Linked DNA regions of Homo sapiens: region 2 is linked to region 1. The links are contacts of gene promoters, found by promoter capture Hi-C in human tissues and cell types (Jung and others, 2019). All regions are on one chromosome and are shown on one strand. Each heading gives the region's core, a stretch centred on a gene start or on the middle of the fragment in contact. The rest is flanking DNA. Distances are from core to core; before and after follow the strand shown. Region 1 holds the start of CDC45 (cell division cycle 45). Region 2 overlaps TXNRD2 (thioredoxin reductase 2).

Region 1 (5,336 bases), core at 1,973-4,472:
CATATCTACAATAAAGTTTAATTTATAGGCTGGGTGCGGTGGCTCACGCCTATAATCCCAGCACTTTGGGAGGCAGAGGCAGGTGGATTACCTGAGGTCAGGAGTTTGAGACCAGCCTGGCCAACATAGTGAAACCCTCTCTCTACTAAAAATACAAAAATTAGCCGGGCGTGGTGGTACACGCCTGTAATCCCAGCTACTCAGGAGGCTGAGGCAGAAGAATCGCTTGAACCCAGGAGGTGGAAGTTGCAGTGAGCCGAGATCGTGCCACTGCACTCCAGCCTGGGCAACAGAGCAAGACTCCATCTCAAAAAAAAAAAAAAAAAAAAGTTTAATTTATAAATTAGGCACAGTAAGAGATTAACAATTAATAATAAAACAATTACAACAATATACTGTAATAAAAGTTATGTGAATGTGGTTTCTATTTTAATATTTTTGGACCATGGTTGACCTCGGGTAACTGAAACCACCTAAAATCTCACAGGAGGATATATATTCAAAAGAACTGGAGGCAGAATCAAGAAGAGATTTTTGTACACCCCGTATTCATAGCACAATTATTCATAATAGCTAAAAGGTGGAAGCAACTCAAGTGTCCAATGACAGATGAATGAATAAACAAATTGTGGTATGGTATATACATACAATGAAATATTATTCAGCTTTTAAAAGGAAAGAAATCCTGTCACATGGATGAACCTTGAGGATATCATGCCAAGTGAAGTAAGTCAGTCATAAAAGGACTTATATTTTATGAGTCCGCTTCTAGGAAGTACCTAGAGTAGGCAAATTCATGGAGACAAAGTGGAACAGAGATTGACAGGGGCTGTGAGGAGCAGAAAATGGAGAGCTATTGTTTAATGTGAGTAGAGTTTCACTTTTGCAAGATGAAAAAGTTCTGAAAATCTGTTGCTCGTGAATGTACTCAACACTATTGAACTATAGACTGAAAAACGGTTAAGATGATAAAAATTTGGTTTTTTTAACCACAACTAAAAAAAAATCTGTATTAGAGAAAATTTCTTGACTTGATTCCAAATATATATTTAGTAGAAGGAATGCCACCTACTGACAAAGCAGTTTACTAGCAACTCCAAAATTAGCAAGCTGAATTAGCCATCTCCCAAAATGCAAACATAGCATGTTCCCGCCTAAAATCTGGGATGGTTCTTTACTCCCTGGCACTCTAACACAGTAATTTCCAATCTTTTGTCTTTCTTCTTTTAAGCAGCATAACTGTTCAGCTAAATCTTGGCCAGAACCATAACACAGGAAATAGCGTTTCTGGGTGAACAAGGCCAGAACAGGGTAGGGGCTTGCTTCCCTTGAGTGCTTCTCACTAGCCAACCTATGTAAGCCATTTCTTCTCTTTGAATATAAAAGGTAAATCCGCACAAAGGGGCAACATACTTAACAACCTGCCTGCAGTTTACCCATGAACCCGACCTTCTGCCCCTTCTTTGCTGCTCCCGATCCCATCTCTCACTTTCCTTTTCAATCCCGAGACCTAGCACACTGCCTGGAACATATCAGGTATTCTTGAGTGGATGAACTCAAGAATAGAAATAAGCCAGGGTTTGACAGTGACACACTTGGGATAAAATCTAACAATCATTCCTTGTCTTTACTAAAATAAACAGGTGACAGGAAGACAATACCGTAGAGTGCTTTGCAGCCAGACAGACTTGGCTTCAACTCTCCAGTCCCTACTTCTGTGACTCGAATAAAGTACCTCTGTAAACGTTAGTTTTCTCATGTTTAAAATCATCATCATCCTTGCTTCCAAAGGGATTGTAGGGATTAAAAGAAATAAGCCGCGATGAGGGAGTACAGGTGTTAAAAGCTGTGTAACAGGAAATGTACCAGCAGGTATTAGCTTCCATCGTTATCATTACCGAACACAACACCGCTGTACAGATTCGAAGGCACGAACCCGTAGGCACGGAGCTCACGGAGCTGGGGCAAGAGCTGGGTGTCCCCCAAGAGCGGGGGATGCCCACTACGGATTCTCCCTGGGGAGCGCCCTGATTCTGTTCCCATCCCCAGCAACCTTGCAACTAACTTTGGGTTTATGGAAACCTGTTGCGCGTCCAGCACTTGGGAAACCCGTGAATGGACACAAACCTTCCTTTCTTTCGTCAAGGAGGGCAAGTCCGGCTGAGACAGAATGCGAGCCACGTTCAGGACCGGCGGACGCGACCACAGGCGGTTAGTGGTCAAGGGTCCTGCTTGTGCCCGGTGCGGCCGATGAGCCTGCAGGCCGGACTCAGGCCCGGGTGACTCGGCACCTCCGCCGCCGTCCCGCCCCGCCCTGCCCCGCCGGGCCCTACCTCAGGCCCCGGGCCAAGGCCCAGCCCCCGCCCGCTGCCCGTCAGCGCTTACCATGATGGACACCACCTGGCAGACTCCGCTCCTCTCAGGCAATGCAACGAAGAAACCCCGCCGACCGCTCTCCCAGCCGCCGCTGCCGCTGCCGCCGCGCCAAGCCGGTACGCCCCAGAGGCTCACCGGAAGTGCCGGACCCGAGACCCGGAGGGGGGGTGCCCGGGACAAAGCGTCGGCTGCAAAAGAGAAAAGGCCAGGCGAAGACGCTAGGCTCTAAAACACCCTCAGTAGAAGCATTAAAATGCCCTTTCGTGATTTATTTCCCCTTTTATAGGTATTTTTAAACGTTATTTTAAATTACGTGTTGACAGTATTCCCCTCCAGACGAATTTAGTAGGGCCCATTGTCCTTACGACTACACTACCCACAATGCACTACCCAGACTGCCTCTGCTTCAGCCATCGAGGACTCGGGCGGAACTAAGCTACAAATCCTTCTTCAAACCACACCAAAAACCTATTGCAAACGTAAATGCTGCCCCATTGGGTATGTGACTGAGTTTAATGTATGGTTAGAAGTATACTTTCCCTGAGGGTTCCCAGTGGGAGGCAGTAGGCTTCTCTTCCCAAAGTAAAGATGTCCGCCCAGCGTCGCTTTTCTGGGTAAAAGCGAGTCAGAGTTGAAGGGGGCAACAGTGTTTGCGTTCGGCCTCAGAGGTGACGCTTCTTTGGGGGCGGGCTGGAGTTTTCTGGCCGTGAATGGCAGAGCGCTAATGGCCGCCTCCAATGTGGCCCAATCAGAAAGAAAGGAAGGCTGGGAACTAAGAAGCTATTGGTTGGTGATCCCTGGACCAATCGGAGGAGCCGTGATTTGGCGGGAGTCTTGACCGCCGCCGGGCTCTTGGTACCTCAGCGCGAGCGCCAGGCGTCCGGCCGCCGTGGCTATGTTCGTGTCCGATTTCCGCAAAGAGTTCTACGAGGTGGTCCAGAGCCAGGTGACGCCCAGTCCGGGACCCCCGCCGAGGCCTTGCCGGTGGGGAAGGGATGAGGGGGAGCGACCGTGGGTGACCGGGAGGCAGGGGAGGGCCGGGGTTCGGGTCGCCGTGTTCAGCCGGTCTGCTCTTCCCCGATAGAGGGTCCTTCTCTTCGTGGCCTCGGACGTGGATGCTCTGTGTGCGTGCAAGATCCTTCAGGTGAGTTCTGCGGACCCTAGGAGGGCGGGGCCGGCGCGCGAGGTGAGGGTGCTGCGTGGGGGCGCAGGGCGGGCAGAGTGTCAGGATGGGTGCTGAGGGCTTAGGGTGGGAGAGGGAGCAGGGCAGGAGGTGAACAGCAAGTGAGAGGAGAGAGACTCGGAGGAGAGGTTGCCTCCCTGTCCCAACGGTGTGGGGTGGGATAAAGGATTAAGTAAAAGGTAAAGAGACTAGTTTGTATTTTTGCAATAAGCTATTAATATTAATAGGTGAACACAGCAGTTGCATTTGGGGGAAACTTTGGATCTGTCGTGGCCTCTCAAATGGGGGATTTGAGAGAGAGGAATCTGTGACAACTGTGGGTATAGTCGTGTCACAGGTGTTGCTGGGAATATGGGAGCCCCTAGTCTATTAGGGAAGATCGTTAGTTTGGTTTTGAATAGGGCATAGTATTTACGTTGTTTTGGTCAGGCCCTTGGATCAGGAACTTTTCAGAAGGCCTGGAAGTTAAATCGGCATTTCTCCCCGATGTTTTACTTTGGTAATTTGCAAAATTCACAGAATGGTATGGTAAACGCTCATATCCCTAGCACCTAGCTTTTCCCGTAAGCATTTCACTAGCTTTAATGTTATCCCGTGTCTTTTGTCTCTCAACCCGTCTAATCTTCCTCAGTTTCTTTTCAAGGTAAATTGCTAATGTCCTAAATAAGATAGGCTTTGAAAACACTCTCTCTCCAGGCCTTGTTCCAGTGTGACCACGTGCAATATACGCTGGTTCCAGTTTCTGGGTGGCAAGAACTTGAAACTGCATTTCTTGAGCATAAAGAACAGGTATTGAAGATGCGTTTTAGAATAACGTGGCTTTTTACTCAATTGTAATTTCTTGACACAGCATTCTATTTCCACGATAGATTAAGCGTGTATTTAAGTATCAGCTACATTAGGCAATATGGAAGAGAAAAACATGCTGTATTTACTGGTGACTTACCACGCCCAAGTTGTAGAAGCAAAATTGACAGCAAAAAAAGATAATGAATGTGGATAGCCCCAACTTTGAACTTGTTTTAACTTGTTTTGCAGAAATTTGATTGTAAGGTGCTTGGAATCTAGCAGTTTTTAATATGGTCTAGTTAAAATTATTTTATTTTATTTTGGTTTATTTTTTTATTTTTTATTTTTTTTGAAACGGAGTCTCGCTGTGTCGCCCAGGCTGGAGTGCAGTGGCACGATCTCGGCTCACTGCAAGCTGTGTCTCCTGGGTTCATGCCATTCTTCTGCCTCAGCCTCCTGAGTAGCTGGGACTACAGGCACCCGCCACCACACCTGGCTAATGTTTTTGTATTTTTAGTAGAGACGGAGTTTCACCATGTTAGTCAGGATGGTCTTGATCTCCTGACTTTGTGATCTGCCCACCTCCGAAAGTGCTGGGATTACAGGTATGAGCCACCACGCCCAGCCTTTATTTATTTATTTTTGAGACGGAACCTCGCTTTGTCACTCAGGCTGGAGTGTCATGGTGCAATCTTGGCTCACTGCAACCTCCGCCTTCTGGGTTCAAGCGATTCTCCTGCCTCAGCCTCCTAACTAGCTGGGATTACAAGTGCCCACCACCACGCCTGGCTAATTTTTGTATTTCTAGTAGAGACGGGGTTTCGCCACATTGGCCAGGCTGGTCTCGAACTCCTGACCTCAAGTGATCCGCCTGCCTCAGCCTCCCAAAGTGCTGGAATTAGTTAAAATTATTTTAGAATACACTACTATTTTATGTTATTTCTCTGAGAAAATGCATCCTGGTTTCCAACTTAAAATCCAGGAATAA
Region 2 (5,336 bases), core at 2,112-4,611, 450 kb after region 1:
CCCTAGACTGGGCACTGCTCCATACCCACCTAACAAATCTTTTGCAGAAGACCCAAAAGGATCAAACTGACTCTTAATAACTGCATCCCAGAACAGAGCTCAATAATAGTATTTCTAGAAATACAAAAATGCCCAGAACCCAACAAGGTAAATTCAAGTGTCTGGCATTCAACCAAAAATTACCAGTCACACAAAGAAGCAGGAAAATACACCTATAAAGGGGACAAAAAAAAATCAGTCAATGGAGACTGACTTGGAACAGACACAGATGTCAGAATTAGCAGAAAAGATCAATAAAACAGGTATTCTAACTATTCCATACTTTTTTATTTTTATTTCCTTGCTTAGATGCCTCACTTGTGTGCCCTAACTCCACCTTATCACATATGATGAACTATCTGTTCATGTGTCTGTCTCGGTAACTAAACTGCAGAACTCCGTCAGTCAGGGGCTTTGGTCCTGGTTTGTCTTTGTTGTTCCGGGTCCTGGCCCAGAGCTTGGACCACATTAAGTATTCAAATGGTTTGTTGAAGAAATTAACATGTTAAAAACAAACCTTTCTCACAGAACACTGTTCCTCCTTCAGTGTTCAAGATCCCAGACCTTTGGGTCCCTTTTTACCTACTTACTCCCTACCAAAAGTTCTCTCTCCTTCGACTCCAGGGTGGTTTTATAAACCTCTTATGCATCTCAACTTGCACTATATGGTAGCTACTTTTCACAGCTACAGACTTTTGGTGTGGGAAGGATCTTTTTTTCTCTTTTTTTGAGATGGAGTCTAGCTCTGTCACCCAGGCTGGAGTGCAGTGGCGTGATCTTGGCTCACTGCAACCTCCACCTCCTGGGTTCAAGCGATTCTCCTGCCTAAGCCTCCTGAATAGCTGGGATTACAGGTGCGCACCACCATGCCCGGCCAATTTTTTTGTATTTTTAGTAGAGATGGGGTTTCACCATGTTGGTCAGGCTGGTCTTAAACTCCTGATCTCATGATCCGCCCACCTCGGCCTCCCAAAGTGCTGGGATTACAGGCGTGAGCCACCATGCCCGGCCAGGAAGGATATTATATGCAATTTGTTCTACCTGCTTACCTGAAGTTTGAGTCTCCTTCATAACATCCTCACCAAGTGTTCACCTATGCCTGGTGCCTTTGTCTGGGAATGTATTGCCTTCCCAAGTGGCCATTTAATTTTGGGAACTCTCCCAATATAAAATTTCTCCTCATATTAATTGGAAATGTTTTCCTATAACTCTTAACTATCTCCACCCCCTCTCCCACATGCCCACTCTTTAAAATTTAAAACTATTTTTTTCCTTTCCCTTAAGTTTTCTCTTTTTGAATTCCTTCAATGATGACTTTCAAGGATAGATTCCTTCAACTAGGATAGTTTAGGTCACTTCTCTCCAAATGACCCACCTTCTCCAAACCTCTGTTCAGAAGGGGCTGCGATGCTCCCAGTAGGAAGTCTGAGGCCCTAAAAATGGGCAGCTCTCGACCTGTCCTGGCTCTGGGCTGTATCAGCCTTGAACTCGGTCACATCAAACATCTGACTTATAGAAGTTAACAAGCAGACTGGGCGTGGTAACTGACGCCTGTAATCCCAGCATTTTGGGAGGCCGAGGCGGGCAGATCACCTGAGGTCAGGAGTTCGAGACCAGCCTGACCAACTGTAGTTTCACGACCAGTAGTGAAAGCTCGTCTCTACTAAAAATACAAAATTAGCCAGGTGTGGTGGTGGGCGCCTGTAATCCCAGCTACTCGGGAGGCTGAGGCAGAAGAACTGCTTGAACCCGGGAGGCAGAGGTTGCAGTGAGCCGAGATGGCACCACTGCACTCAAGCCTGGGCAACAAGAGTGAAACTATGTCTCAAAAAAAAAAGTTAACACAGCATTCACTGAAACCCCTGAGGCTTTTTTTTTTTTTTTTTTTTTTCAAATCTTGTGGACTTCTGACTGGTACAACTGCAGCTGCCTTGCCTGGTAACTTGGGTACCTGGTTTGTGGGTCCAACTGCAGGCCATTCAGGTAGACTTGATTTTTTTTTTAATTTAAAAAAAGGCTTTTTTTTCTTTTTTCTTTTAAAGAGACAGAGTCTCACTTTGTTGCCCAGGCACTGGTGTGCAGCGGTGCGATCACAGCTTGCTTACGCCTTGACCTCCTGGGCTCAAGCAATCCTCCCAGCTCAGCCTCCCAAAGTGCTGGGACCACAGGCACACACCAACGCCCAGCCCTCAGTGGTTTTGATGGATTAGTGTATCCCCAGACCCTCCGAAGGGGAGGACAGTGCCTTATCTCTCTCTTTCTTCCACCAAGAAGGCCACAACCGGCCTTTTAACCTTGATCCAAGCGAGGCTGAAAAGCAAACAGGGCGTTCATCTTCATCCTTTATAGCCACATAGCCACATCTCCCGCCCACAAGCAGATTCCACCACCCCCCGCACCCTAAGGCCCAGCCTCATCAGCTGCAGCATCTTCACCTGGCCTTTCACACTGAAGCAGAAGGGGTGACGGTTTACTTTCAGCTGCATGGTCTCCATCATACCCGTAGACCCAACAGCTGAGCTTCCCCTCTGTCCCTTCTCCTCAGCTCACTGCCCCACTAGCCATTCTGCATGTTCAAACAGTGCAGGAGCAACATGGAAGATATAACCAAAGGCTCAAGCTGGATTGTAGAGATGAAAACTACAATACAGGAGATGAAAAATACACTGGACGGGATTAATGGCAGGTCAGATGTTGCAGAATCTTTTATTGGTGGGTTTGAAAACATAGGAATAGAAACTATCCAAAATGAAACGCAGAGTAAGAAATGTTTCTAATGAAAAGAGCATCAGTAGGTTGTGGGGAAGCTTCATGCAGCCTAATATACATGGAATTAAAAGTCCCCACATGTGAGGGGAAGAAGGAGGGACTCAAGGCCAATGAAAAGAGAAAATCCTAAAAGCAACCAAGACACACTACAGAGACACTAAGATAAAAATAGTAGCAGATTTCTCACTGGAAACAATGCAAGCCAGAAGTCAGAGGGGCAAAATTTTTAAAGTACTGAAAAAAAAAAAAAAAGCGGGGGGCCAGGCATGGTGGCTCACGCCTGTAATCCCAGCACTTTGGGAGGCCAAGGGGGGCGGATCACAAGGTCAGGAGATCGAGACCATCCTGGCTAACACGGCGAAGCCCCGTTTCTACTAAAATCACAAAAAATTAGACGGGCATGGTGGCATGCGCCTGTAGTCCCAGCTACTCAGGAGGCTGAGGCAGGAGAATGGCGCAAACCCGGGAGGCAGAGCTTGCAGTGAGCTGAGATCGCACCACTGCACTCCAGCCTGGGCGACAGAGCAAGACTCCATCTCAAAAAACAAAACAAAACAAAACAACAACAACAAAAAAGAAGGCAAAATAAAGACGTTTTCAGACATACAAAAGCTGAGAGAATTCATTACCCCCAGAGCCATATTACAAGAAATGCTAAAGGATGCCCTTAAGGTAGAAGAAAAATACCAGATGGAAATGTGGATCCTCACAAAGGAATGAAGAGCACAGAAATACAATGGGTGAGTATGTGAGATTTTCTCACACGATTTAAGTATATTTTAAACAAAAATAATAATGATGTATCATGGATTTATAACATGTAACAGTAAACACATGATATAATAACATAGAATGAAGGTTAGGAGGGGTGGAATAGATGTATGCTTTTTTAAGGGTAGACTGGCAAGTTAAGGTACATGCCATAAACCCTAAAGCAACTCAAAATAAATCAAAGACCTAACTGTAAGAGCTTGAACTATAAAATGCTTAGAAGAAAACACAGGTGTAAATCTTTGTGATCTTGGATTTCTTAGCTATGATACCAAAATCATAAGCAACAAAGGAAAAAAATAGATAAATTAGGACTTCACCAAAATTTAAAACTTTTGTGGCACAAAGGATACCATCAAGAAAGTGCAGGGCCGGGCATGGTGGCTCACGCCTGTAATCCCAGCACTTTGGGAGGCCGAGGCGGGTGGATCACCTGAGGTCAGGAGTTCAAGACCAGCCTCAACATGGAGAAACCCTTTCTCTACTAAAAATACAAAATTAGCCAGGCGTGGTGGTGCATGCCTGTAATCCCAGCTACTCAGGAGGCTGAGGCAGGAGAATTGCTTGAACCTGGGAGGCGGAGGTTGCGGTGAGCCGAGATTGTGCCATGGTACTCCAGCCTGGGCAACAAGAGCGAAACTCCGTCTCAAAAAAAAAAAAAAAGAAAGAAAAAGAAAAAGAAAATGCGAAGAGGCCAGGCACGGTGGCTCATGCCTGTAATACCGGCACTCTGGGAGGCCGAGGTGGGCGGATCACCTGAGGTCAAGAGTTCAAGACCAGCCTGGCCAACATGGTGAAACCCCATCTCTACTAAAAGTACAAAAATTAGTCGGGTATAGTGGTGTGTGCCTGTGGTCCCAGCTACTTGGGAGGCTGAGGCAGGAGAATCATTTGAGCCCAGGAGGCACAGGTTGCAGTGAGCCAAGATCACACCACTGCACTCCAGTCAGGGTGACAGAGCGAGACTCCATCTCAAAAAACAAAACAACGGCGGCTCACACCTGTTAATCCCAACCCTTTGGGAGGCCAAGGTGGGTGGAACACTTGAGAGGTCAAGAGTTCAAGACCAGCCTGGCCAGTATGGTGAAACCCCGTCTCTACTAAAAATACAAAAAATTAGCTGGATGTGGTGGTGCACACCTGTAATCCCAGCTACTCGGGAGGCTGAGGTGGGAGAATTGCTTGAGCCCGAGAGGCCGAGGTTGCAGTGAGCCGAGATGGTGCCACTGCACCCCAGCCTGGGCAACAGAGTCAGACCCTGTCTGAAAACAAACAACCAACCAACCAAAAAACAGCTGAAATGTCCAGAACAGACACATCCACGGATATAGGAAGTAGATTAGTGGTTGCCAGGGGCTGGGGAGAGGGGGGAAGAGACTGACTGCCAATGGGTACAGGGTATTTTGGGGAGAAACTAAAATGTTCTTGAATAACACAGGTTTGAACTGCACAGGTCCACTCATACATGGATTTTTTTTCAATAAATATAATCCCTTGACCGGGCACAGTGGCTCCCACCTGTAATCCCAACACTTTGGAAGGCCAAGGTGGGCGGATCACCTGAGGTCAGGAGTTCGAGACCAGCCTGGCCAACATGGTGAAACCCCGTCTCTACTAAAAATACAAAAATTAGCTGGGCGTGGTGGCAGGCACCTGTAATCCCAGCTACTCGGGAGGCTGAGGCAAGAGAACTGCTTGAATCCAGGAGGTGGAGAGTGCAGTGAGCTGAGATTGTGCCATTGCACTCCAGCCTGGGT

The links. The method cuts DNA at HindIII sites, captures the fragments that hold promoters and counts their contacts. A contact is called where the count stands out against the background at its distance.
Region 2: a contact is called between a fragment that was not itself captured here and the fragment with the promoter of CDC45 in region 1, in 1 of the 25 tissues and cell types used here (dorsolateral prefrontal cortex).

The regions. Positions count from the first base shown.
Region 1 is chr22:19,476,698-19,482,033 of GRCh38, forward strand. It overlaps CDC45 (cell division cycle 45), which reads left to right and starts at 3,223. Exons shown (of 19, transcript NM_003504.5): 1 at 3,223-3,322; 2 at 3,461-3,520; 3 at 4,256-4,348. The coding sequence starts at 3,272. UFD1 (ubiquitin recognition factor in ER associated degradation 1) reads right to left here and starts at 2,496. Exons shown (of 12, transcript NM_005659.7): 1 at 2,386-2,496. The coding sequence starts at 2,388. RefSeq lists silencers at 2,263-2,332, 3,123-3,172 and an enhancer at 2,733-3,032. The HindIII fragment of the contact is 17,956 bases long and covers 1-5,336 here.
Region 2 is chr22:19,921,937-19,927,272 of GRCh38, forward strand. The region is part of intron 2 of TXNRD2 (thioredoxin reductase 2); the gene reads right to left. Among named protein-coding and RNA genes, the nearest start is that of COMT, 17 kb to the right of the region's middle. The HindIII fragment of the contact is 5,179 bases long and covers 773-5,336 here.